Regions from separate parts of the Homo sapiens genome. Here regions 2 and 3 are each linked to region 1. The links are contacts of gene promoters, found by promoter capture Hi-C in human tissues and cell types (Jung and others, 2019). All regions are on one chromosome and are shown on one strand. Each heading gives the region's core, a stretch centred on a gene start or on the middle of the fragment in contact. The rest is flanking DNA. Distances are from core to core; before and after follow the strand shown.

What was found. Contacts are between HindIII fragments. The study calls those that stand out against the background at their distance.
Region 2: a contact is called between a fragment that was not itself captured here and the fragment with the promoter of ATOH1 in region 1, in 2 of the 25 tissues and cell types used here (adrenal gland and aorta).
Region 3: a contact is called between a fragment that was not itself captured here and the fragment with the promoter of ATOH1 in region 1, in 5 of the 25 tissues and cell types used here (H1 embryonic stem cells, adrenal gland, dorsolateral prefrontal cortex and 2 more).

What each region holds. Positions count from the first base shown.
Region 1 is chr4:93,827,001-93,830,381 of GRCh38, forward strand. It overlaps ATOH1 (atonal bHLH transcription factor 1), which reads left to right and starts at 1,753. Exons shown (of 1, transcript NM_005172.2): 1 at 1,753-3,381. The coding sequence starts at 1,927. The coding sequence ends at 2,991. RefSeq lists an enhancer at 1-575. The HindIII fragment of the contact is 12,246 bases long and covers 1-3,381 here.
Region 2 is chr4:93,763,495-93,766,875 of GRCh38, forward strand. All of the region lies in intron 14 of GRID2 (glutamate ionotropic receptor delta type subunit 2), which reads left to right. Among named protein-coding and RNA genes, the nearest start is that of ATOH1, 64 kb to the right of the region's middle. The HindIII fragment of the contact is 6,409 bases long and covers 1-3,381 here.
Region 3 is chr4:93,877,256-93,880,636 of GRCh38, forward strand. No RefSeq gene overlaps it. Among named protein-coding and RNA genes, the nearest start is that of ATOH1, 50 kb to the left of the region's middle. The HindIII fragment of the contact is 5,081 bases long and covers 1-3,381 here.

The DNA.
Region 1 (3,381 bases), core at 503-3,002:
GAATAAAGCTCTGAAGTTTCTGGCACGTAAGATACGCCCAAGACTATTCCTAGACACCAGCAAACAGACGAGGTTGAAGAAGAAACAGGTGAAGAATAATGTCTTAAACATCATTTTAGCACCCTATTCTGCCATTCTGTATCTTTATAGGATATGTCCAGTCCAGTCCCAGAAAATCTACTGCCCAAGGAGTTCTAGATGACAGGTTAGATCAAGCCCCGGCAAATGTTTGCGAAAACAACATTCAACTGCCTCTGGACATTGCAAAGACATATTCCAGGGAGCTATCTCTTGGGCTCTTTTTTAACATCTCTCCTAGAGGATGAGACTCCTTTCGGGATTACAGCCACTGGGAAAGTAAAAGCAACAGTAGCATCAACAGGTTGCATCGCACTCCCGCGCCCCAGGGGCGGTGCAGGAGAGCGCCCGGAGCCAGAGCCAGGGCGCGCTGGGCGCAAGCTGGGGCGCGCCCAGGGCCAATGAGCTTCTGATTGGCTCTTTGCTGTGAATAGACTAGGCCGAGGCTAATAGGACCGGAGGGGGCGTTCACCTGGGAATTGGCCTCCCCCCCTTGCCAAGGACCTCCCTGATTGTATGGGGCGGAGTGGGGTGGGGGTGGGGGCTGGAAAGGGGAAGCCCACCCTAACTAAACGGAGGGGCGGGAGGAGGTTAAACTGAGGAAGCCACGAGCCCGCAGTAAAGAGAGGGCGATCGAGGCAAAAGGGTAGGTAACTTGGGACTTCTGTGCCTTGAAAGTGTTAAGGATTGCAGGGAATGCAGGCGCCTTTCATTTTACTTTGGGCACCCTCCCCTGGCTGGGCATTTAATGAGGAGTCCTACTGTGTGTGTTGAAACTCTGCATAATACCGTAAAATATTCTGGCCCTAAATTACACTCAACGGAGAGATTTAGGCAGATTACAATCCTAATTGGCCGCAGGGTGCTGGGGAAAGGGGACAGAGAGAATTGGGGGATCTGGAATTTGGTGTGCTATCACTACACCGCAGCTCTATTTTCCATTAAGAAAAAGATCATATGACGAAGTCGAACTAAGAGATCTGAAGTAAAAAATGAAAAGATGGAGCAAAAGTAAGAAACATACTCTGAGACGAGTGGGTTTTCCCCCTTTATTCCAACAGCAATCTTAAATGATGGACGTCATGTAGCAGTTATATATCTATGAACATGCATGAGAGATTTATAAATACCTGCATACATAAATACAAACATCCTATTATACATGAGAAATCGTAAATGCTTGGGCATCAGAAGTGGGAGCTGTGATCCTAGCTTGGGGGCAGCACAGGGTAGGCGGCCTTCTCTCTGCTTTGAGTGGCTTCTGGGCGCCTGGCGGGTCCAGAATCGCCCAGAGCCGCCCGCGGTCGTGCACATCTGACCCGAGTCAGCTTGGGCACCAGCCGAGAGCCGGCTCCGCACCGCTCCCGCACCCCAGCCGCCGGGGTGGTGACACACACCGGAGTCGAATTACAGCCCTGCAATTAACATATGAATCTGACGAATTTAAAAGAAGGAAAAAAAAAAAAAAACCTGAGCAGGCTTGGGAGTCCTCTGCACACAAGAACTTTTCTCGGGGTGTAAAAACTCTTTGATTGGCTGCTCGCACGCGCCTGCCCGCGCCCTCCATTGGCTGAGAAGACACGCGACCGGCGCGAGGAGGGGGTTGGGAGAGGAGCGGGGGGAGACTGAGTGGCGCGTGCCGCTTTTTAAAGGGGCGCAGCGCCTTCAGCAACCGGAGAAGCATAGTTGCACGCGACCTGGTGTGTGATCTCCGAGTGGGTGGGGGAGGGTCGAGGAGGGAAAAAAAAATAAGACGTTGCAGAAGAGACCCGGAAAGGGCCTTTTTTTTGGTTGAGCTGGTGTCCCAGTGCTGCCTCCGATCCTGAGCCTCCGAGCCTTTGCAGTGCAATGTCCCGCCTGCTGCATGCAGAAGAGTGGGCTGAAGTGAAGGAGTTGGGAGACCACCATCGCCAGCCCCAGCCGCATCATCTCCCGCAACCGCCGCCGCCGCCGCAGCCACCTGCAACTTTGCAGGCGAGAGAGCATCCCGTCTACCCGCCTGAGCTGTCCCTCCTGGACAGCACCGACCCACGCGCCTGGCTGGCTCCCACTTTGCAGGGCATCTGCACGGCACGCGCCGCCCAGTATTTGCTACATTCCCCGGAGCTGGGTGCCTCAGAGGCCGCTGCGCCCCGGGACGAGGTGGACGGCCGGGGGGAGCTGGTAAGGAGGAGCAGCGGCGGTGCCAGCAGCAGCAAGAGCCCCGGGCCGGTGAAAGTGCGGGAACAGCTGTGCAAGCTGAAAGGCGGGGTGGTGGTAGACGAGCTGGGCTGCAGCCGCCAACGGGCCCCTTCCAGCAAACAGGTGAATGGGGTGCAGAAGCAGAGACGGCTAGCAGCCAACGCCAGGGAGCGGCGCAGGATGCATGGGCTGAACCACGCCTTCGACCAGCTGCGCAATGTTATCCCGTCGTTCAACAACGACAAGAAGCTGTCCAAATATGAGACCCTGCAGATGGCCCAAATCTACATCAACGCCTTGTCCGAGCTGCTACAAACGCCCAGCGGAGGGGAACAGCCACCGCCGCCTCCAGCCTCCTGCAAAAGCGACCACCACCACCTTCGCACCGCGGCCTCCTATGAAGGGGGCGCGGGCAACGCGACCGCAGCTGGGGCTCAGCAGGCTTCCGGAGGGAGCCAGCGGCCGACCCCGCCCGGGAGTTGCCGGACTCGCTTCTCAGCCCCAGCTTCTGCGGGAGGGTACTCGGTGCAGCTGGACGCTCTGCACTTCTCGACTTTCGAGGACAGCGCCCTGACAGCGATGATGGCGCAAAAGAATTTGTCTCCTTCTCTCCCCGGGAGCATCTTGCAGCCAGTGCAGGAGGAAAACAGCAAAACTTCGCCTCGGTCCCACAGAAGCGACGGGGAATTTTCCCCCCATTCCCATTACAGTGACTCGGATGAGGCAAGTTAGGAAGGTGACAGAAGCCTGAAAACTGAGACAGAAACAAAACTGCCCTTTCCCAGTGCGCGGGAAGCCCCGCGGTTAAAGATCCCCGCACCCTTTAATTTTTGCTCTGCGATGGTCGTTGTTTAGCAACGACTTGGCTTCAGATGGCAGCTACATTTGATGGTTTGCAAATGCCGCCGCTGTTCCAAACTTCCTACGGTCCATATTGTTTGATGAAAACTTTCTGTTAAAATTGTGTCCTTTCCGCCCACCTTCTGCTCCCCCTTTAGATAGATACGGTATAATTGTAGGTACCCGTATATGGCATCATTATTCTAGTTCCCTGCTGCCAATACGCTGCTAAAACGTCGCATCTTCTCTGTCACTGGTTTGGGTTTAATTTATTTTACGCCC
Region 2 (3,381 bases), core at 496-2,995, 64 kb before region 1:
ATATTGATGAGACGTTTACTCAGGGTTTAAGAAATCTCTGAAACTAAAGAAGATAGCTTTTCTCTGCATACTTACATATTAGAAGCTGTGTGAGATAATGGAGAGAAATGTGCTGGAAGGCAGACCTGAGTTCTAAGCCCAATTCAACTATTTATTATCTGTGTGAGCAACTTAAAAAGTCATTTAAACTCTACAGCAGTGAGATTGTGTGTTCCATGTGAAAAATCTAGGGAATCATTATGCCGGATTACTTAGCGTCTTCATCCATAAAATGGGGGAGGAGAAACAGACGGGGAAGCAATAATGTCTGCAACCTTTCCCATTCTAATTTCCTAGTAGAAATGACTAAAAAGGCAGGTGTCATTTTTCTTAGGTAACCAGTAACCAGTAACTTTTTTAGTTTGGTTCAGTAGGAATTCACCTATGGGCCATGATTCCAGAAAAGTTTGAGAGGAACTTATTGACAGCGATGGTATTTAAGGACAAAATCAGAGTGACCTATGTGGGATTAGAAATTTGCGTCCAACTTTCAGCAACCTGTTTTGTAACAAATAAATTAATTTGAAAATCATTTCCTAGAGTAGTGACTAAAAATGGTAAGGGATCAAAAATTAGTGTGAGTCTCAAACACAAATGAGGCTAAAAAGGCTCTTCAAGATGAATGCCTAAACCTGTTGGATTTCTTTAATTTTAATATGAAAGAAGGATCTTTTGATTCCTCTACTCCCTTCCCCTGAAATTTCCTCATTTATACCAATAAAGAAATCAGTGCAATTTTCAAATTGCAATTAAGTTTTATGGACTTCTAAAATTTTTCTGTTCAATGGGATCACAAATGTTTTAATATTTTGGATGAAAAAAAGGAAATGAGATGTCCGTGTCAGTGAATCAATCATTCATTGATCATATGGGCATGTAATTCTCCATTAAGAAGTATGTACCGGAACAGGTCCAAAGAAAGAACAATAGTGATACATGTGACAATAATAAGTCTAGCTTTAGAGTTGCAATAGCCTTCCGCGTGCCAGGTAATGAGCTTTTCATGCATCTTGCTCACTGAGATCGTCACGTGTGGTCTTATTAATTCACACCACAATGACCCTCAAAAGTAAGTGTTGTTATGCATCACCATGGTGTAAAAATAGCAGGAATTTTTCTGACTATACTCCAAAAAGAGATTTTAGCCGTTAGTTCATCACAGTCTAATAGCTAAACTTATTTCTAATAGTTTAAGTATTTACAGCCCCACAAAGTCTATACTTCAGCACTTCAATCCCATAGATTAACAATAACCACAGTAACTCTTTGCTCTCTATGAGCAAATACTGCCATCTTGTGGAAATTGCACGCCAAACAGAACATTATTGTTCCATAAACTCAAAAGTTTTTCTTGTGTTTATTAAGAATTTTGCAACTCAATTTTTGCATTGTCATACATACGCGCACACACACACACTCGCACACATACATACACATTATTGTTGCTTATAATTACAAGGTACAATTCTTTAGATTTTCAAGTTCAATTTAAAAGGGCCAGTGCTTTGGGAAGATTGAAGGGAACATATCTCTTTGCTTATTATAAGAATTCATCCTATTCATCTTCCAGGCAGTGCATTATATTTTACCACACTTGCTTTACATAATCTTTAAATTGGGTTTTTGTTAAATCATAAAAAGGAGGCCATAGTGAGACCATTCTGATGGAATTTCCAGGAACACTAGATTTTGTAGCAAAATGTTATGACAGAACTCTGGACTTAGAGAACACTTTCATTCCCTTCCAACACTTGTAGCCCATGCCAGCCTGTATTCCTGGAATCTGTTGTCAGGGGTGACTGAGGGGTCAGATGGTCCAATTTCTCTGTACATCCCCAAAGATGAAATCTCCCTGCAATGCCCCAGCCACTTGTGCTGCCGTGAGCATAAAATAAACAATACAAAGAGATTTTTGTGGCATATTCGTACTTGAAGCACCTAGAGAGGGTGCTTCCTTCTTTCCCCTCGATGATCTCCTATCGCTCAGCTGGCTGAACCTAAAAATTCTGCAATTAAATGATTTTTTTTGGGTTTAAGGCTTTTAATTCCTATTAGAATTTAAATAGGTGAGGTATTATATATATATATATATATATATATGAGGCATATATATATATTTCAATAATGATTTCTAAAGTCAAAATATTTTCCAAGTTTAGAAAGAATAAGGAGACAAAATTAAATAAAATGAAATGCAAGGGCCCCAAATACCACTGAGAAGAAAGTGTAGGCAGTAATTAAGTTCCTGAATGAAGGAAGGAATAAATGAACATGAATTGAGGGCATTAAAAAAATGGCTTCACAGTGTCACTCAAGCCTCTCCGGTGGAATGTGCAGTCGTGGTTTAGAATAAATTTTGTACCCAAGGAAATGTCTGGAATGAAGTCATTCTTCAACTGTTTATTAAATGGATAGATGAATAAAACAGGAATGGAATAAATTAGAAAACAGCATCAATCGTAAGAAAAAAGAATAGGATCTGATATCAGAGTTTAGGATTCATTTACCAAAACTGTGTTGAGTATATTCCATCAATAAATATGCACCTGCTCTGTAGGAGGCAATATGGAGGATGAGTACACACTCTCGAAAATGGAACAGACTGATCAAGTAATTATAAATGATGATAAGTGCTATGAAGGAAAATTCTTACACTTTCACAGTGTATTAGTTCGTTCTCTCACTGCTATGAAGAAATACCCAAGACTGGGTAGTTTATAAAGAAAGAAGTTTAATTGACTCACAGTTCCCCATGGCTGGGGAGGCCTCAGGAAACTTACAATCATGGTGGAAGGCACCTCTTCACAAGGCAGCGGGAGAGAGAATGAGTGCTGAGCAAAGGGGAAGCCCCTTATAAAACCATCAGATCTCGTGAGACTCACTATCACAAGAACGGCATGAGGGAAACCACCCCCATGATTCAATTATCTCCACCTGTCCTGCACTTGACACGTGGAGATTATTACAAGGTGAGATTTGTGTGGGGACACGGAGCCAAACCGTATCACAAGGCTACTGACCAATATGGTGTGATGCAAATAGGAGAGCAGGATAACAGGATCTCATTTTGTGCCCAGATGTATTCTCATTAAGCAAATGTTGCTGTAGTTGCCTTTTATATCTACAAGTACTTATAAACTCAAATTTAAAAAGAATTATTTGTTCAAAGATGACTACATTTTTCCTCCAAGGTAATCAATGGTGCTCTGACTACCTAGAGCCTTTAGGTGGGCAAATACATAAGGGATGTGCCATTATTTTTTATTATTATGGTAAGAATTCTTAACATGGGTGCTATTCTATGAAAATTTTTAATGTACAATACAGTATTGCTAACTATAG
Region 3 (3,381 bases), core at 473-2,972, 50 kb after region 1:
AGATATATATATATATATATGAGTTAATTTCATATTAATTTCTATTTTTTCTTAAATTTATATCAACTTTAAACAATATAATTTACTGGACTGTCATTATATGTCAGTGTAGTGTAACTCAGTATGTAAGTAGCTACAAAGATAAATTCCATTTCAATTGAAAGGAAATGTCAAAAATAATGTCTCTTTACATTATGTAAAGGTTACTTCATCTACTATTCATTCATCACATATAGTATACCTGAAAAAGGAAGCATGCATATCATTAAATACATATTTATAAAAATTAAGCTAAAAGAAAACTTTTTAAACCAAAAACTAGTAACAAAAACAGGTTTTGCTTGTGACCTCAACTGGGCAATGAAGCCCAATAAAAAATACTACCTCTTAATAGAACTAAATGTCTACTATAGATTTCAGGAGCGAAGCACTTTGATCCTTTGTAGGTTTTAATTATGCAGACAAAAATGACCAGAATGTAGTAGGTGTTCATTAAAACCCAAATCTTAAGATTAAAGATGGAGGCTACAAATACTCCTAGGCAGAAGATCTGGTTCTAAAAGACATGTAAAATGTAGGCAAAACATAAATCAAACTGAAAATGGAGTATCATTCGAGTTGTAAACAACCTACAATTTAGAGTTTAAAATGATATGCTACAATAGTTGCTTATGCTTTCTCTAATATTACATTGTATGTATGGGGTGTTTAGGAATGCACATAATTCTTTTCATCTAACATTAGAAAAGTGTAAACATTAGAAAAGTGCCATTCCAAAATTATATTTTCATGTACAGATCTTCTAAAAATTATGTTTTAAAAGTTATAATTAGATAATGACTTGGTTACATTAAAAGAAGCTTTGGCGGGGCACGGTGGCTCACGCCTGTAATCCCAGCACTTTGGGAGGCCGAGATGGGCGGATCACGAGGTCAGCAGATCGAGACCTTCCTGGCTAACACCGTGAAACCCCATCTCTACTAAAAATACAAAAAAAAATTAGCCAGGCATGGTGGCGGGCGCCTGTAGTCCCAGCTAATCGGGAGGCTGAGGCAGGAGAATGGTGTGAACCCAGGAGGCGGAGCTTGCAGTGAGCCGAGATCGCGCCACTGCACTCCAGACTGGGCGATAGAGCAAGACCCTGTCTCAAAACAAAACAAACAAACAAACAAACAAAAAGAAGCTTTAAGAGAAGAAAATTGAATTTTGTTAGGAAAATAAAAATAAGTTAATTTAAGAATCTACTTGTTTTCACAATCACATCTCAATTTTTCAGGGATCGTCCATTATCCCCTCTTCCCTCAAATTACAAATCTAAAAAACTGAACAAACAGACAAAAAAGCTTTCCACATTCTTGTTCTCCTATATATACTACCCTGGTTTTCAATTTTTGTCCAGATCTAAATTTCTTTTAAATGGTCTCTACTCTTTAACTTTCTTCCACCTCTAACTCACTTCTCAACTCAGTGTAATTTGACTTTCACCCTATCACTGCACTGAAAGTTCACTGTAAGGACAAGTTAACCTCCTAAGTGACAGAGCTAATGGACACTGTTTAATCCTGAAACACTGACCTCCTGACTGCTGTTGCAACTCTTTCTTTGTAGGTTTTCATTTCACCAACACCTTTTCCTTGATTTTCTTCATTCTCTGTGGCAACTTTTCCTCATTCCTCTGTCAGTCTTCTCACATAATTCATTCTACGTGGGTAATCCCATTTATATCAGTGACTTTACAATTCATATGCTGATCACTCTCACTTCCATAACTCCACACTAACCTTTCTCCTGGGCTTCAGGCTTATATTTCATAATACTCTCAAGATTTCTTCATGTGGATATTACAGACTTCCCTAACTTAACTCATCCAAAGTCATTTTTTGTCCTCAGCTCCCCTCAATGCCTTGTTTACTTTTATCCCTGTACAAGATTAGTGAGTTGCATCTTTACAATGTTCTAAACTGGAAAATTGTGAGAGATCCTTGATTCTTTTCTCTCCCTCAAACTTAATATTCATTAGATCACTAAAACCCTATTAATTTTATCACAAATATAGAGTCTTTGCCTAGCCCCATTGTCAATGTCGCAGCCTGTACTGTTATTTATTCACTAGTTGCAGAAAAAATTGCTATAGCTACAGACTTGGTCTGTTTCTTGAATTATTTCATGCTCCCGTCTCCACACTAAGGACACAGTTATTTTCTAGAAAAACAAAAGGAGGTCTGGGCACGATGGCTCATCCCTGTAATCCCAGCACTTTGAGAGGCCAAGGCGGGCAGATCGCCTGAGGCTAGGAGTTTGAGACCAGCCTGGCCAACATGGTGAAAACTCATCTCTACTAAAATACAAAAATTAGCCAGGTGTGGTGGAAGGTGCCTGTACTCCCAGCTACTCAGAAGGCTGAGGCATGAGAATCACTTGAACCTGGGAGGCAGAGGTTGCAGTGAGCCAAGATTGCACCACTGCACTCCAGCCTGGGCGATGGAGCAAAACTGTCTCAAAAACAACAACAGCAACAACAACAACAACAAAAAACGGTGGACAGACCTCAGTTTCAGACACCATGCCATCAAACAAGCTTAAACCATTGTTGATATGCTCTTGCCTGCAGGAGGACATTCAGTGCCTTTGCCTCTCACATAAATACTTTACAATCAATCAGATCCCTGCCCATTTCTCTAGCCTCATTTTCCATCTCTCTCCCTTTCCAACCGTATTCTTTTACCATTCCAAAATATCTTCCATTCTCTAAATGACCACAGGCAGCTCTAGATTTATATTCGTCATAAGGTGCAACCCCAGAGAAAAGAAAGTCCCTCTTTTTCATTATTTCCCCAGCAGGGCCCTGGGGAGCTTCTGAGTGGCTCTGCGTGGGTGACTTGACTGTTGAACCAATCTCTGTGGCCAAGGAAATGCACTACTCTGATTACATAGACTAGGTCATGTGTCCACCTTTGTGGGGAGAAGTCTGCTCCACCTAAGTTTCATAGATTAGCTCTTCCATAATAAAGAGGAGTCCTGTTACCAGAAGCAGGGGAAGAAAACAGTCGAAAAGGAGCTGCTGCAAAGAAAGGGGAAGAATAGGGTGTCCCCAACGTGTACTTTCAGGAAGCACATGATAGTTTCTCAGCATCACACCTCCAGTCACCTCTCCACCTCATGTAAGTGGGCATTCAACTAAGAATAGGGAGCAAATTCCAATCTTAGCAAATTATCTTCTTTATCAAAATTAGCGTCCCTACCTAAGGACTATTGTGGTGACTGAGACTATATTGCATAGTTCTGTCTCGATTTTCAGATGTTTTATTTCAGTCTAATTGTTCCATGCTTTAGGTGGAAATGAGTGCACTTCAGAGTCAGGTAGAATTTGTTCACAATCAG